Linked DNA regions of Homo sapiens: region 1 is linked to region 2. Evidence: promoter capture Hi-C in 16 types of primary human blood cells and fetal thymus (Javierre and others, 2016). All regions are on one chromosome and are shown on one strand. The core of a region is centred on a gene start or on the middle of the fragment in contact, and the rest is flanking DNA. Distances in the headings are between cores, read along the strand shown.

Evidence for each region. Contacts are between HindIII fragments. The CHiCAGO score rates a contact against its expected background, and 5 or more counts as called.
Region 1: a fragment that was not itself captured here is called in contact with the fragment with the promoter of KRTAP4-4 in region 2 in 1 of 17 cell types (neutrophils); the score reaches 5.7 in neutrophils.

Annotation. Positions count from the first base shown.
Region 1 is chr17:40,903,135-40,905,959 of GRCh38, reverse strand. The region is part of intron 1 of LOC105371777 (a long non-coding RNA gene); the gene reads right to left. Among named protein-coding and RNA genes, the nearest start is that of KRT20, 19 kb to the right of the region's middle. The HindIII fragment of the contact is 4,098 bases long and covers 1-2,825 here.
Region 2 is chr17:41,159,440-41,162,139 of GRCh38, reverse strand. It overlaps KRTAP4-4 (keratin associated protein 4-4), which reads left to right and starts at 1,392. Exons shown (of 1, transcript NM_032524.2): 1 at 1,392-2,491. The coding sequence starts at 1,449. The coding sequence ends at 1,949. The HindIII fragment of the contact is 13,067 bases long and covers 1-2,700 here.

The sequences.
Region 1 (2,825 bases), core at 209-2,708, 260 kb after region 2:
CTAACACAAGGACAGAAAACCAGACACCGTGTGTTCTCTCTCATAAGTTGGGGTTGAACAGTGAGAACACATGGACACGGGGGGTGGGAGGCGCATCACATACTGGGGACTGTCGGGGCGTGGAGGGCTGTGGGAGGAGAGCATTAGGACAAATATCTAATGTAGATGACAGGCTGATGCGTGCAGCAAACCACCATGGCGCATCAATACCTATGTAACAAACCTGGATGTTCTGCACCTGTACCCCAGAACTTAAAGTATAATATAAAAAATAGAAAGACATTTTTCTATGGAATGTGAAGGCTACTTCAGTACCAAATAACAGTCTCTTGTGATGAGAGCACCATGTCTGCCAGGCGGCATCTGTTGCACAGCACTCTGCTGTGTCTTCCAGCCTCTGCCTCGTTCCCACTTCAGCCGGGCGTTCCTGCTTACATCTGTGGCAAGCTCTCAGCTAGCTTCTCCTCCCAGACTGAGAATCCTCCTAAACTGCACCTCTTGCCATTTACCCTCTAGGGGACAATAGACTTCTTCATCTTGTACCTGGGTGATACCAGGCTCTCAGAATTCCTAGGGATCAGAGGGGTGGGTAGAAGGACAGGTGGATCAGGTAGATGCATGAAGAGAGGCAACGCCAGTTACTCAGACTCTGCCTGGGCTACCAGAGTCCTGAGCTTCTTGCCCCCATTCGGGAGGTGTTAGGGGTCTCACTCCGAATCATTACTAGTTTGTTCTTTAGCTTTTATTTCCATTTCTTCCGTGTGTGTGTGTGTGTGTGTGTGTGTGTGCTGCCACTGATACTACTTTTCCCTCTCAGCGATTAAAAGAAAAAAAGATACATTTGAAAAAGTGGTGTATTATCTATTCTGTTAATATGATGTCAGTATTTATGAGGTGTGGTCTTTGTGCCTCTTTTTAAAGATATAAGGAATTACTCCATCGCCAAAGTTCGGTGGCTTCTCATATCACAGAGTAAAAGGCAGGTTCCTTGCTGGATGATGGCATCCACATCCCTCACCATTCACCTCCGAATTGCTGAGGTCCTTTCCACCACCCTCCCTTCCATCCCTGAGCACCCCCACATCCCCACTGCTCCACCCACACTCACACCTAAACTGCTATAGACCTTTGCACCTGAGCTGCCATATGGCTCTTTTCTTCCTGCTGTCATTCAAATACCACTCTCACAGGGAGGCCCATTCTCATCTCTCTACACACAAGGGCAACTTTCCCAGCCCTCCCCACCCTTCCTTTTTCTCCTCTGACCTACTCCCTTCACCTCTAGCTCCCACCCCTGAATCTAAGTTCCGCCAGGGCAGAAACGTTTGTGTTTTTTTAACTACTGTATCCCCAGCATCTGCAACAAAACCTTGCACACACTGATATTCACACAGACTTGTGAATTCATGAATGAATGCGTGAGTGAATGAATGAATACATCATATACTATACAAGGTTCATAGTAAAAAATAGCAGCCCCTGGTGTCCCCACTCCTGAATGTTTCTCTCTGAAATCTTTTAGCTATTGTTTCTGGTATTAACCTGCATATCTCTAAGGAATATGCTTACACTGCTATTTCTTGTTTTATCAACTTAAGACGTTAAAGACCGGGCACGGTGGCTCACGCCTGTAATCCCAGCACTTTGGGAGGCCGAGGTGGGCGGATCACGAGGTCAGGAGTTGGAGACCATCCTGGCTAACACGGTGAAGCCCCGTCTCTACTAAATATACAAAAAAAAATTAGCCGGGCGAGGTGATGGGCACCTGTAGTCCCAGCTACTCGGGAGGCTGAGGCAGGAGAATGGCGTGAACCCAGGAGGTGGAGCTTGCAGTGAGCCGAGATCACGCCACCGCACTCCAGCCTGGGCGACAGAGCGAGACTCCGTCTCAAAAAAAAAAAAAAAAAAAAAAAGAAGACATTAAAGACCTAAATCCCCATTGTAGAAGATGGCATCACAGGATTCTTACACCATCTCACACCTCCGGTTGCCATTTCTCTACCTTTCCAGTGTGATTACATCACATTGTCTTATAATTTACATATATATTATCTGTATGGGGTTTATATCCCTTTGCTAGAATGAAGCCTTGTCAGCAGGAATTTGTGTTTGTCTTGCTCACGGAAGTATCCTCATGGCCTAGAACAGTGCCAGGCCCTCAGCAGGTACTGAGTAAATATTTGTGGAGTGAATGGATGAATTCTGAGATTTATGGGCTGTGACTTATCCACCAGTTACTCATCGCTGCACTTTAGGGATGCGTGGGCCACCTCCATGTCCCTGTGCTTTTCCAGCTTGGACTCTCCCTCAAACTCTGCACTTTCAGGAAAACTTCAATGACTCCCTCCCACCCAGCTTTACTTGGGGATCCTTCCTCTATATCCACAAATCTTTTCGTGAACATTATATATAATTCCCGATTAGTCACCGTCTCCGGCTAGGCTGCCGCCTCCTCGGAATCATGGACTGTGTCTTGATTTCTGAACCCTATTGGCTATCACAGCATCCCACCTATTGTAATTGATTCTCAAGCAGCTATGAATGAAGGACACACAGTCCCTGCTTGCCACTTGGAGGCAAGAAAGAAACGACATCTTCCTGTTCCTGGTGAGCCCTAGGGTGAGTCACTTCACCATTTACAGAGATAACATGTGGCTCGATTGCTTCTTCTTTCACTCTTCACTTCCCCAGGTTAATAATTGCCAGATCATGTCATACTCTTTATTTTTTCAACCATTTCACTTCTTGCCATCCCTTTCCATGTCCAAATCTCCCTCAGAAATAAAAATAAATTTCAAATTAGTCAGAGCATCGTGACTTCTTTC
Region 2 (2,700 bases), core at 143-2,642:
TGTTATTGTATATATTATATATATATTTATACATACTATTAAATACAAACATATATGAAGAATATATATTATATATTCATAAATATGTAAATATATATATTCCTATATTACCTATATATAAGGTTCTCTATCTACCCATCTATATATGTATAATATATATATATATTCCTAAGGTCCTTTGGCAGAATATATATATTCCCCCAAACCTGTGTGTGTGTGAGTGTATATATATATATACATATACATCAAAAGAAAATTATGGGCCTAGAAGAATTAAAATCACCCAAGGTCAGACATAATGTGTGTGTATGTGTGCGTGTGTGTGTGTATATATATATATATATATATATATACACACACACACGCACACATACACACACATACATACACACACATATATGTGTGTGTATGTGTGTATATTTATATATAGTGTGCATATTTATATATAGTGTGTATATTTATATATAGTGTGTATATACGTGTGTGTGTATACTATATATAGTATATATATGTATATATATAATATATATTATATATATATATATATATTATATATATATAGCAAGGACACTGGGTCCTTTACCTTAGGTTGGCAAGTAAACCTTAGAAATAGAGGAGATGACTCAATGTGATTGTTAAAGCCAGAGAGACAGGAAGGAAAAGTCAGAAGGAAAATCAGCCCCTCAGAGCAGAGAGCGGAGGGACCTGAACCTTTTAGTATAGCTGATCTCTGTAGCCAATTTCCCCTAAAGGCCCTGAAACTGAGTTTTGGAGTGTTGTTTCTCAAGAAAAAGAAGCATCGATAATTCATGACTTAGATGTCCACCTTAAAACAATTCTGCTTTCCCCAGTAGAACATCTAGAAAATGGGTCATGATTCATTGTATGGAAGGTGGCAAGGAATATATCCTAATAGTATTTGTTTTCATGCCACTGGTCACCTGTTTCACATTCAAACCTTCATTGCTCACTTGATCTATAACAAACATGCCATGAGATTAAAGCACAGCTTTCTCCTCCTGAGTCACCAAAAGAAAATTACGGGCCTAGAAGAATTAAAATCACCCAAGGTCAGACATAATGTATTAAGGAAAATGAGGCTGCAGCACATGGTACCTGCAGGCAGATGTCACATGGCAGCTCAAGGAGGAAGCTGCAGCAAGAGGCACACAAGAGGTTGTTCAAGAAGAGCTGACCTGAAGAATCCTAACACACCAGGGGAAGGAAATAATGCTTTTCTCCATGTTGACAAATTTAAGCAGAAAAACAAACTTGCCTAATTTGATAATTGCCTGCTCATCAGAACAAACAATGACAAGGAAAGAGTGCTGCATCCGATGACATCAGCCCTGAGCAGGGTATAAAAGAGGATCTGGGGCAAGGAGACTTCCAAGCCTTCCAAACCCTCCTTCCTGGAAACCCACCCAGAACCTCCACCCTCTGACACCATGGTCAACTCCTGTTGTGGCTCTGTGTGCTCTGACCAGGGCTGTGGCCTAGAGAACTGCTGCCGTCCCAGCTACTGCCAGACCACCTGCTGCAGGACCACCTGCTGCCGCCCCAGCTGCTGTGTGTCCAGCTGCTGCAGACCCCAGTGCTGCCAGACCACCTGCTGCAGGACCACCTGCTGCCACCCCAGCTGCTGTGTGTCCAGCTGCTGCAGACCCCAGTGCTGCCAGTCTGTGTGCTGCCAGCCCACCTGCTGCAGACCCCAATGCTGCCAGACTACCTGCTGTAGGACCACCTGCTGCCGCCCCAGCTGCTGCAGGCCCCAGTGCTGCCAGTCTGTGTGCTGCCAGCCCACCTGCTGCTGCCCCAGCTACTGTGTGTCCAGCTGCTGCAGACCCCAGTGCTGCCAGACCACCTGCTGCAGAACCACCTGCTGCCGCCCCAGCTGCTGTGTGTCCAGGTGCTACAGGCCCCATTGTGGCCAGTCTCTATGCTGCTAGCCCATCTGCTGGCAAACCACCTGCTACAGGACCACCTGCTGCCACCCCAGCTATTGCATTTCCAGCTGCTGCCAGCCTTCCTGCAGTATCTCTAGCAGCAGTAGCTCCTCCTGCTGTGGCTTCAGCTGCTGCAGGCTCTCCTGCTGCATCTCCAGTTGCTGCCGCCCCAACTGCTGCCAGACCATGTGCTGCCGCCCAACCTGCTCTAGTGCTTCTTGCTGCTGAGGCTGTCATCTGGACTCACCAGATTCTCATCAACCAGCATTCTTGATGTAGCTCATCTATGAGCTGAGTTATGGGAAGCTAGTTGGAAAACTTCAGTTCCAACCAATTCTTAGATTGAATCTGGCCTCCAAATATATGCTCCCCCCACATTTTACCTCTCTACCAAATGAACATAAGTTGTAATTTGCTCTGAAATCTGTCAACTATCTTAATTGAAATATTTGCTCTCTGCCATAATTTCTCATATGGAGCTATTCCATTTTAAACAAATATTTATCTAAATAAATCTTAAATAAATTTTCAGGCATAGAAATATACAGATACTGTGTCTCATTATTTTTCTTTTTTGAGTGTGGTCAATTACCAGTCAATTTTTCTGTTGTTCTTCTCTGCAGAATGTAATTTCAGGGGCACCACCTCTATTTCCTCAGCACACTTTATTCTAATATACAATGGTGGTTTCTTAGAGCAAGCACCTGGAACTCTCTTCTTGAAGAGTTTCTCTAGCCAAGGAGCAAGCTCTGGA